Linked DNA regions of Homo sapiens: all the other regions are linked to region 2. Evidence: promoter capture Hi-C in 16 types of primary human blood cells and fetal thymus (Javierre and others, 2016). All regions are on one chromosome and are shown on one strand. Each heading gives the region's core, a stretch centred on a gene start or on the middle of the fragment in contact. The rest is flanking DNA. Distances are from core to core; before and after follow the strand shown. Region 1 has its middle 19 kb from the start of RGPD8. Region 2 holds the start of TMEM87B (transmembrane protein 87B). Region 3 has its middle 4.1 kb from the start of TTL.

Region 1 (3,863 bases), core at 93-2,592, 400 kb after region 2:
GTAACTTCCAGACATTGCTAAGGCATTTGTAAACTGTCATGGCACTGATGGGAATGTCTTCTAGCATGCTAACGCATTATAATTCGTGGATAACGAGCAGTGAGAATGACCAGAGGTCACTTTCATTGCCATCTTGGGTTTGGTAGGTTTTGGCTGGCTTCTTTACTGCAAACTGTTTTATCAGCAAGGTCTTTGTACTTTGTGCTGATCTCCTATGTCATCCTATGACTAAGAATGCCTAACCTCCTGGGAATGCACCCCAATAGGTCTCAGCCTAATTTTACCCAGCCCCTATTCAATATGGAGTCGCTCTGGTTCAAACACCTCTGACAATATTACTTCAAAGATTAAGTTACAAAAGACTGTGGCTTTTTTCTTGCTTACCATCTCTTACCCTCTTTCTTGCTCACTGTAGTGAGGCCAGCAGGCATGTTGTAAACTGCCCAATGGAAAAGCCTATGTAGTAAGGAACCAAGAGAGGCTTCCAGCCAACAGCTTTTGAGGAATTGAAGCTTTAGTCTAATAACCCATGTAGAAACTGGCCAACAACCATGTGAGAGTGCTTGGAAGCTGATCTATCCCTAATCAAGCCTGAAGGTAACTGCAGCCCTGCTGACACCTTGACTGCAACCAGAGCCCAAGGATCCAGCTACGTTATGTCCAGATTCCTGACTCAAAGAATCTATGAGCTAATAAACGTAGGGGTTTTAAGCCACTAAGCTCTGGAGCAATTCGTTATGCAGCAACAGAGTGTGTAATAATTACCCTCAAACATAGCAGCTTAAAATAACAAGCATTTATTACCTCAGTTTCTGAGGATCAGGAATCCACCTGCAGCTTAGCTGGGTGGTTCTGGCTCAGAGTGTCTCACGAGGGTGTAGTCAAGCTATCCGCCTGAGCTGCAACATCTCAAGGCCTGACTGAGGCTGGAGAATCCACTTCCAAGCTCACTGTATGGTTGTTGGGAGGCCAGACACTCAGTTCTTTCCATATAGGTTTCTCCACAGGGCTACCTCACAACATAGCAACTGGCTTCCCCCAGAGCAAGTGGTCAGAGAGAGATCTCAAGACTGGCTGTCGTCTTTTTGTAATCTATTCTCAGACGTGACATGCTATCACTCTTGCCTATGATGTTGGACACACAGATTAAACTTAGTGTAACATGGGAGGGGACTACACAAGATTGTAAATACTAGGTGTCAGGGATTATTGGGGGCCATCTTGAAGGCTCATTACCAACTTCCTGTGTCCATTTCTCTTCTTCCCATTAGTTTTATCTAAGAATAGGCCAACCTGTCAGAGATTACGTTCTCTGGACTCCTTTTTAGCTAGATTGGTAGTGTGACTACATTCTGACTAAAGGCACACATATGGAATAAAGTCATGTGACTTTGGGGTTATGCCCTTAAAAAGGATTTTGTTTCTCTCCCCCATTTTTCTCTCATACCATGGGCTGGAACATAGGTATAGTGAGACTATGCAGGTAACACCCTAAGGGATGGCTACGAAAACAAAAAAGAATTTGGCTCCTTGAATTAACTCATAGGTTGCAGCAGCCTACATCACTTGGACATCCTGCCAGCTTTGGATTTTCAGAGAAATAAACCTATCTTATGTAAGTTCCTATACTTAATCATTTTTAGGTAGTTGAATCTCCTAAAAAAAACACTACAATCAGCCCACTATTGAACTGACCCAAGGATATTCAGACTACAGAATCCAGAGATAAATCAAGCACATTTCAGAATTTAATGTAAGACAATGGCACAGTATTTCAATTTAATGAGAAAATGATAGCTTATTAAATAAATTATCATGTTGATATTACCAGACAAGTTTACATAAACAAGAGACATCTTTCTGACTGTGATTCCAACCTTGCTGTCTAGTACAGTAATGATGCTCACCTTCCTCCTGACATTTAGGAGCTGTCATATGGCCCTTACTGTGCTGGGATCCTATGCTCCCCATTGCTAACAGGAAGTCCAGTTCTGTAACAGCATCCCCACCATTCTTCTTGACCTTCAGAAGACATTTGCTACCGTGCCTCTCATTGATGCTGCTGCCCTCCCACCAGTGCCTTCTTAGCTCTGATAAATGGAGTGTCTTTTTGAACTCTTTGTCCATAGTTCTGGCATCTCTGCTTCATTTAATGTGGGCCATTGATTTTTCCAAGCTTCTGAAGCTTTGCAGCGGTATATTAGAGCTTTCTTGTGGGGCTCATTGCAGGTGTTAAATCTTGTGTTATGTAAAAGATGCCCCCACCTTGAGAAGGCTTCTGTATTGGAGTTCTCCAGAGGGGGAGAACAAATAGGATGTATAGGATATACGGATATATCCTATATATATCCTATACATCCTATCAAATAGGATGTATAGGATATATAGATACATAGATATATATCTATGTATCCTAGGATATATCTATATATCTATATATATGTATCTATATATCTATATATCCTAGGATACATAGATATATCCTATATATTTGTATAGGATATATAGGATGTATAGGATATATAGATGTATAGGATGTATAGGATATATAGATATATCCTATATGATATATGTGATATATCATATATCACATATATGTATGTGTGTGTATATATATCTCTCTCCTATATCTATATCTCTATCTATCTATCTATCTACAGGAGTTTATTAGGGAAAACTGCCTCACATGATTACAAGGTGACTGTCTGCAAGCTGGGGAAAGAGAGAATCAGTAGTGGCTCAGTCCAAGTCAGAAGGCCTCAAAACCAGGGAAGCCAACAATGCAGCTTCAGTCTGAGGCCAAAGGCCTAAGAGCTCTCAGGAAGCCACTGGAGTCTGAGGTCCAAGGGCAGGAAGAGTGGAAGCCAGTGGCCGGCATGGGAAGAAGAAAGAAAGCCAGAAGACTCAACAAGCAAACTTATCCTATTTTCTGCCTTCTTCATTCTAGCCTGGCAGCTAGATTGGATGGTGCCCACCCACACTGAGGGTGGGTCTTCCTCTCCCAAACCAACAACTCAAATGTCAGTCTCCTCTGGCAATACCCTCACAGACACACCCAGAAACAATGCCAGCTATCTAGGTGTCCTTCAATCCAATCAAGTTGACACCTAATATGAACAGCTTCCTTATGCAGCCTCACCTTCTACCCAACCTTGACTCCTAGCCATTAAGATCTATTCCTAGGTACACACTACCAGTTCTCTTAATCCCTGTTATTCAGGCCCTGCTGCTCCTTTACATATAACATCTCCCTCCCTCAGCAGGGCAAGCATATCCTGAGGTAGATCAGGCTTTGAAATTCCACTCTAGTTAATGACCTTGTAGCCAGGCTGATCTTGAACTCCTGGGCTCAAGCAATTCTCCTGCCACAGCCTCTCACAGTGCTGGGATTATAGATGTGAGCAAAACATCCAGCCAATCCTTTAGAAAAGGGGTGCACCTATGATTATCAGCAGGTAAGCCTCACAGCAGCTGGGCATGGATGCACTGACCTGGTGAAGGGATGTGGGTAGAGAAAGAGCACTAGCCTCAGGGAGAGAACATGCTGACTGGCTAGGTATCTTCTATGTGCCCAGCCCTGCATCCAGCATTGGGTGTGGTCCCACTAACCATAACTGCTAAAAGTCAGGGAGGATGATTCTACACTGAAAATCAGGGCTTTGTTGCAGAAGGAGGGTACCAAGCAGACAAAACAACAGACCTTATTACAATAGAATTCTAGGTGCCAGATAATTTATTATATATAGTATGTTTGAGATGACACACAAAATCAGAGGGTCTACTATTTAAAATAATTTTGTCATCTTTCTCTAGAGAAAGAAAAAAATAAATTCTGCAAATTTTTAACTCCCTAATCATATTAA
Region 2 (3,701 bases), core at 805-3,304:
GAGAATGGCGTGAACCAGGAAAGCGGAGCTTGCAGTGAGCCGAGTTCGCGCCAGTGCACTCCAGCCTGGGCGACAGAGCGCGACTCAGTCTCAAAAACAAAACAAAACAAAAAATCATTGCCTCTCCAGTGTTCTTAACTAAAGGTGCCATCTGCCTAACTTAATTTAGGAATGCCTGTATGTTTTGGTACTGTTTAAATATTCCCAGCTTTGCCACTCTCCGTCTCACACCAACATCCAGTCATCTGGAAGATCTTTCCATTCCTCCAGTTCTCTCGTAACTAAAACGATTTCAGACTTACCCCTCACTCCCACAGGTAACTCGCCCTTAACTCTTCTTGTAGAACTTAAATTTCATGTATTGTTCTCTCCTTCTGTCCCTCACTTACTTCCTAAATCTCTGGTGGATGTTCCCCTGTGGTCCTGTTACAGTTATTCTGACCTAAACAGAACTGATCACGTTGCTTACTGGGAAGATGCACATGCAATCTCTAGTGTATAGTAGGTCCTCAATAATTACTGGTGACTGGTAAAGCAGCCAAGGCCTTTGGACTATAAATCGATCTTATTCTACGTTAATAACAATATTAGCACAGGATTCTATTCCCTTGCTGGATATTATTTACATTTGATAATGAATGAACTAATTCTCTTTGACAGCAAAACATGTATTCAGCTTACAGCCGAAAATGCAAGGGAAGGTACACAATAAGACGGATCCAAGCCCTGACCCCTCTGAGCTTTAAGCCAGTCAAGTAACTACTTGTTCTGAAAAGTATTAACTGTCCTATTAACGTTAACCTTCACAACACAATGCCTTGTGTTCAACTGGCCTTGGCCTCAAAGCACTTTCCTGGCACATTCCCTGAATTTAAAGAACGGTTTCCATACAGCTGAGAGGGTCGAGGCAGGGGTAAGTGTAGAAGACGCAAGAAATGGAGACACCCTGGGAACAGAACTCTAGACTGCACTCCAACCGTAGCACTTACTAGGCATTCGACTCCAGGACCTTGACACTCGCGCTCGCTGGCGGCGAGCCCCGCCTCCCCACTGCGCCTCATCTCCCAGACAGGCCCCGCCTCCCCACTCAGGCCCCGCCTCCCCACTCAGGCCCGTCTCCTCACTCAGGCCACGCCTCCCCGCCCAGTCCCGTCTCCGTACTAGGGCTTGCTCCAAGCCCTGCTTCCTCGCCCAACCTGGCCTCCCCACTACGGCCTAACCCCAAGCCCTTCTCGTCCAGCCCCGTCTCCACACTACTGCCTGGTCCTCAACTCCGCCTCCCCACTCCGACCCCATCTCCCTGACCAGCCCCGCCTTTACGCTCAGGCTCCGCCTCCCCGCCGGGTCTTGCCTCCAAATCCCGGCCCCGCCTCCACGCGGCCCCGCCTCCACGCGGCCCCGCCTCCACGCTCGGCCTGGCCCCAAGCTCTTCCTTCCTGGGGCACTCTGTCTCCGCACTCCGGCCTGGTCCCGAGCCCCGCCCCGCCTCCACACGGCCCCGCCACCACACGGCCCCGCCTCCACGCGGCCCCGCCTCCACGCTCGGCCTGGCCCCAAGCTCTTCCTTCCTGGGGCACTCTGTCTCCGCACTCCGGCCTGGTCCCGAGCCCCGCCCCGCCTCCACACGGCCCCGCCTCCACACGGCCCCGCCTCCACACGGCCCCGCCTCCACACGGCCCCGCCTCCACACGGCCCCGCCTCCACACGGCCCCGCCTCCACACGGCCCCGCCTCCACACGGCCCCGCCTCCACACGGCCCCGCCTCCACACGGCCCCGCCTCCACGCTCGGCCTGGCCCCAAGCTCTTCCTTCCTGGGGCACCCTGCCTCCGCACTCCGCCCTGGTCCCGAGCCCCGCCCCGCCTCCACAGTCCCGAGCCCGCCTCCAACCCTGCCCTGTCCCCACACCCAGCTTGGCCCCGAGCCACGCCTCCCACCCCGCCCCCACACTCCCGAGCCCCGCCTCGTCTCCACACTCCGGCGGCGCCTCCCTACCCGGCCCCGCCTCCGCGCTCGGGCTGCCAGCCCTCCCTTGCACGTTCCGGCTCCTCTTCTATCTTCACGCCCACGCTAGGCCCTGAGCCCAGCCTCCACGTCTCGCCGCCAACTCCACATCCTGGCTCCTATCTCTGCCTTCCAGGCATCTCCCAGCTGCACGCTCGGGCCCGGCTCAGAGCCCTAAGCCCTGCCTCCCGGTCCTGGCCGGGTTTCCCAGAACTGCACGGCGCCTCTCCGCCCAGGCCCAAGCGCGAGCCCCTCCTCCACACCCGAGTCCGAGCCCCGCGTCCCGGATTCGGACCCGCCTGCCTGGGGCGGTGCTGCACCAGGTGCGGGTGTGGCAGGCGTCTCGGAGCGCCAGGTGCAGCTTCCTGGTCAAGATGGTCGCCGCCTGCCGCTCGGTAGCCGGGCTCCTGCCACGCCGCCGCCGCTGCTTTCCCGCCCGGGCCCCGCTGCTGCGCGTCGCCCTCTGCCTCCTGTGCTGGACCCCGGCGGCTGTGCGCGCGGTCCCTGAGCTCGGGCTCTGGTTAGAGACAGTCAACGACGTAAGTGGAGTGTCGGGACCCAGGCGTGGCACGTCTCGGGCCGTCAGGGCCGTCGTGCGGCTTCGCTTGACCCCGGGCTTGTTCACCCTGCCTCTGCCGGGTCAGCACCGGGTCCCCTGATACCCTCCCTGAGCCTTTTGTCTGTTACAGCCGGGGAGCGGGGAGCGGCCCCTCCTCCGGCCCGACCTGGGCTGCAGGCAAGAGCCGTCAGGATTGCGCATGGGACGGCCCTCGGGTCCGAGCGCTCGGACTGTTACTGAGGGTCACCATGCCCGACGCCGTGGCCCTCATTCTGCTCTGACATGTTTTGGCTGGATCAGGAATCTCTCGGCACATCTAGCAGCATCTTTGGGATTCGACTCTTCCTGTCCGGATGCAGCCACAGTGGGCCACACCCCTGAGGCCGCAGGGAGGACTTGCCAGCGCTTCAGTTTCTGCATAAACTTAGAAAGCGGGTCTGCCGCTTCCTTAAAAAAAAAAAAGAAAGAAAAAATTTAAATGAGGGGGAAACGTGCAGTAGTCACCCTACCTCTATTTCTCTCTTCTTGAGTTCCTGAATTTCTCTACAGTTCCTGTCACAGTTCCGGGAGAGAGAGTGTGTGTGTAGGTGGGGCGGGACTTGTGATTAGGGAGTGCTTGAAAGGCGAATCTGGAGGCATGAGTGGGTGGAAACTCTTCTTTCCAAGGCAGGCTATTAGAAAACTTGGCGTCTGGTAATTAGAGGAGATGATGTGGGAGAGATGCAGGGGCAGAATTATGGAAAGTCTTGCAAAAGAGAGACAGGAAGTCTGGAAGAGGCATTATCTCCGGCTTCTCTGGGGTCAGATGACTCATCCAGCACTGTTTGGGATGGGTATTTTCCACATGCATGAAATAATGTCCAGGTTCTAAAGATGAGACTTATATTTTGATTTCCTTAACCAGAAAAAGAAAGTAGTTCCAAAGACTACAAATACTTCCCACAACACAAAAGCTACTCAGAGGAACACGCTGGGTATCTTTCTGGATCTTTTAAGACCTAGTGCAGCCATTTCCTCCAGGATTGGATTCTTCTGGGTTGGTGACCTAATTTGTGTGCCAGTTATAGTCTGCACATCTCCATTATTTAATTTCCTGAACGGGAAAAAGTAGAACTCAGTGAACTACTCTCATGGCTTCC
Region 3 (3,805 bases), core at 196-2,695, 420 kb after region 2:
AAGCGATCCTAACACCTGACCTCCCAAAGTGCTGGGATTATAGGCATGGGTCACTTTGCCCACCCAGCAAGCTTTATTGCTTTACCTTCCACTTTTAAATGTATTCCATCATAACGCATTTGCAATTGATTTTTGAGTATAGCATGTGATAGGAGTCAAGGTTTATTTAGTTTTCCATATGGATATCCTTGACCCAGCTCCATCTGTAAGCCCATCTCTGCCCCTACTCATCTGCAATGTCACCTTTGATATAAATCAGGTTGTTTATAACATACATACAATGCAATTGTGAGTTCCAGGGCCACCTTTTTGAGGAACTCAAGCGAGGACACTGCTCTTCACAGCTGAGCATCCATTCCTCCTCACCCACAAACAGCCGCCCCTTGGCCACTGCCCAGGCCTATGGGTGCCTACACCAGCAGTGCCACTGACCCTTGGGACATGGGCCCGGGGAGGAAGCCTGAGCAGGGCCAGGAAATAGGCTTTGATCTCTGGACAGTGAATTCTGGTTCCCGGATATCTGGCACATCCTAGAAACTGGGAGGGTGACAGTCTCCTGGTGGCCATTAACTCCTTGACCTCACAAACGTCTCATCTGTAGGGAAGAATGTGGCTAGAGCAGGGCCGGAGTGAGAGCCTCTAAAGTTTTCTTACGTGGGCTTAAGAGTGGTGCTCCTAAAAAGCAAGCCTCAAAATCCTGAACTACTCCTCCCTTCATGTCTTTTCTTTGTGTCCTATACTTAGACCCCCAAACAACTTAAAATGGGTTTTCCCTACATGGGTTACATTGGTCTGTTTATTACATTGGTTAATTTTTCCCTTCTTATGCTAAAACCATGCTTCCTTAATTGCTACAGCTTTGTACTTACATACTATAACTTTGATAGTCAGGTCTTGATACCTGGTAGTGTAAATCCTCCAACTTTCTTAAAGATTACCTTTGCTATTCTTTTTTTTTTTTCTTTTTGAGTCAGAGTTTCTTTTTCTTTTTTCTTTTTTTTCTTTTTGAGTTGGAGTCTCACTCTGTCGCCCAGGCTGGAGTGCAATGGCGCAATCTTCAGCTCATTGCAACCTCTACCTCCCCAGTTCAAGTAATTCTCCTGCCTCAGCCTCCCGAGTAGCTGGGATTACAGGTGCATGCCACCATGGAATCTTAAAATCTTAAAAATCTTAAAAATCATGCCACCATGAAAATCTTTAAAAAGATTTTCAGTCTTTTTTAAAAAACATATGGCCGGCTAATTTTTTTGTACTTTTAGTAGAACTGGGGTTTCACCATGTTGCCTAGACTGGTCTCGAACTCCTAACCTCGGGCAATTTGCCCGCCTCGGCCTCTCAAAGTGCTGGGATTACAGGCATGAGCCACCGCGCCCAGCCAGTCCCTTGCATTTCTATATAAATTTTTGAATTACCTTGTCAATTTCCATGAATGGCTCTGCAGAGATTTTGTTTGGGATTGTATTGAATCTATAGATCAATTTGACACCTTAACAATTTTGAGTCTTTCAGTCATGAACATGGTACATCCTTTCATTTATTTTATGCTTTTAAATTTTCTCTCGATTATGCTTTGTAATTTTCAGTGTAGAGGCAATGCACAGCTTTCATTAGATACTCCTAATTATTTCACATTTATATTGATGCTACTGTAAATCGTATCTTTTAAAAATTTTTTTTCTATTTCTTTGTTGTTGACATACAGAAATACAATTTATATCTGTATATATACCTTGTATCTAGTGACTTTACAATGTTCAGTTATTCATTCAATTAGTATAGGTTCTTCAGGATCCACTATGTATAGAACCATATCATATGGGAAAAGTGACAGTTTTATTTTTTTCAAATTTTCCCTTAATAAACGGGTTATTTGATGGTACTATAAATGAAATTGTTTTCTTAATTTTTTCTTGGATTATTTTGGGCTGTTCCAAAAGTTTGCTGAATTTGTTTATTAATTCTATTAATTCTAATTTGTTTATTAATTCTAACATTTCGTGGGTATGTATGTGTGGGTAGTCCTTAAGGGTTTTTTTGGTAGAATTTTCTACATATATGTTATCTGCGAATAGAATCAATCTCTTTAATAGGTGTGAAATTATTCAGATTTTGTATTTCTGTGTCATTTTTGGTAAACTGGATTTTTCAAGGAAGTAGTCTATTTTGTCCACACGTCAAATTCATTTGCAAAAATTGATCATAGGATCTTCTTTCTTTCTTTCTTTTTTTGAGACGGAGTTTCGCTCTTGTTGCTCAGGCTGGAGTGCAGTGGCGCGATCTTGGCTCACGGCAACCTCCGCCTCCCGGGTTCAAGACCGTCTCCTGCCTCAGCCTCCCGAGTAGCTGGGATTACAGGCGTGCGCCACCACGCCCAGCTGATTTTTTGTATTTTTAGTAGAGGCAGGGTTTCTCCATGTTGGTCAAGCCGATCTCAAACTCCCGACCTCTGGTGATCCACCCGCCTCGGCCTCCCAAAGTGCTGGGATGACAGGCGTGAGCCACCGCGCCTGGCCGGATCTTATTGTTTTTAATACCTTCAGGATCTCTAGTGATGTTTCTTTTTTCATTAAAAAATTTGTTTAAAAATATTTTTAAATCTTCTTGCATCTGACCTTTTTCATTTTAACTTTGATTGTTCTTCCTTTCATTTGTTGGTCTTGAATGCTTAACAATTTTAAATTTTTTAAAATATATCCCCTTTGCCTTTGATTTCTTTATTGTACATTTATTTTCTACTTCCTTGATTTCTTCCCTTAGGATTTATTTCCTTTTACTTACTTTGGGTTTTGCTTATTATTCTTTTTCTAGTTTCATGAGATGGAAGCTTAATTGATTTTCAGTCTTCTTTTAAAAACATACGTACTTGGCCCACGCCTGTAATCCCAGCACTTTGGGAGGCCGAGGCGGGCGGATCACGAGGTCAGGAGATCGAGACCATCGTGGCTAACACGGTGAAACCCCGTCTCTACTAAAAAAAAAAAAAAAAAAAAGAATACAAAAAATTAGTCGGGCGTAGTGGCGGGCGCCTGTAGTCCCAGCTACTCGGGAGGCTGAGGCAGGAGAATGGCGTGAACCCGGGAGGCAGAGCTTGCAGTGAGCCGAGATCACACCACTGCACTCCAGCCTGGGCCACAGAGCCAGACTCCGTCTCAAAAACAAAACAAAACAAAAAAAAACACATATGTACTTTAGACTGTAATTTTTTTATTAAAAACAGCTTTAGCTGTATCCTACCAGTTTTGCTATGCCATATCTTTATTCTCATTCAGTTAGAAAATACTTTCTCATATTGTGATTTCTTCACGGATTCATGGGTTATTTAGCAGTGTACAATATCACTTAATCTCCATGCAACTTAATTCCACTATTGTCAGAAAAGTGTTCAGAATTATTTCAATCTTTTGAAATTGCTGGAGTTTACTTTATAATCCAGGGTACTGCCAGTTTTGGCAAATTCCTTACATTCTTTGTTCCAATATTGCTGCTGACTGTACGTACTGTCTCCAGAAGAAGAGGGCACATCCAAATTCTAAGGTCTAAGCTAGGAAGTGATACATATCACCTGCTCACATTCTACTGGCAAGAGTATATTCACATATCCACATTTAATGCTTACTGCTAGGGGCTTAATGCTAGGGTGGAGGCAAAGCTGAATTTTCGGAACAGATTCTCCCCCTATAAGACAGCAAGACAGTGGCAAGCTGTCCCACACAGATAGTGTTCCATCAGATTGGTCTGATTTGGACCAGTTTCCTACGTTTTACCAGTCGCTGTGGCAAAAGGGATAGAGAGTAATCCTGTTGGA

Evidence for each region. Contacts are between HindIII fragments. The CHiCAGO score rates a contact against its expected background, and 5 or more counts as called.
Region 1: a fragment that was not itself captured here is called in contact with the fragment with the promoter of TMEM87B in region 2 in 1 of 17 cell types (M1 macrophages); the score reaches 5.0 in M1 macrophages.
Region 3: a contact is called between a fragment that was not itself captured here and the fragment with the promoter of TMEM87B in region 2, in 7 of 17 cell types (non-activated CD4 T cells, fetal thymus, naive CD8 T cells and 4 more). The highest score is 7.8, in non-activated CD4 T cells.

The regions. Positions count from the first base shown.
Region 1 is chr2:112,451,206-112,455,068 of GRCh38, forward strand. No RefSeq gene overlaps it. Among named protein-coding and RNA genes, the nearest start is that of RGPD8, 19 kb to the left of the region's middle. The HindIII fragment of the contact is 1,664 bases long and covers 511-2,174 here.
Region 2 is chr2:112,053,215-112,056,915 of GRCh38, forward strand. It overlaps TMEM87B (transmembrane protein 87B), which reads left to right and starts at 2,055. Exons shown (of 19, transcript NM_032824.3): 1 at 2,055-2,542. The coding sequence starts at 2,378. RefSeq lists silencers at 1,047-1,096, 1,297-2,026 and enhancers at 2,757-2,826, 2,857-3,196. The HindIII fragment of the contact is 6,387 bases long and covers 1-3,701 here.
Region 3 is chr2:112,476,167-112,479,971 of GRCh38, forward strand. No RefSeq gene overlaps it. Among named protein-coding and RNA genes, the nearest start is that of TTL, 4.1 kb to the right of the region's middle. The HindIII fragment of the contact is 2,753 bases long and covers 70-2,822 here.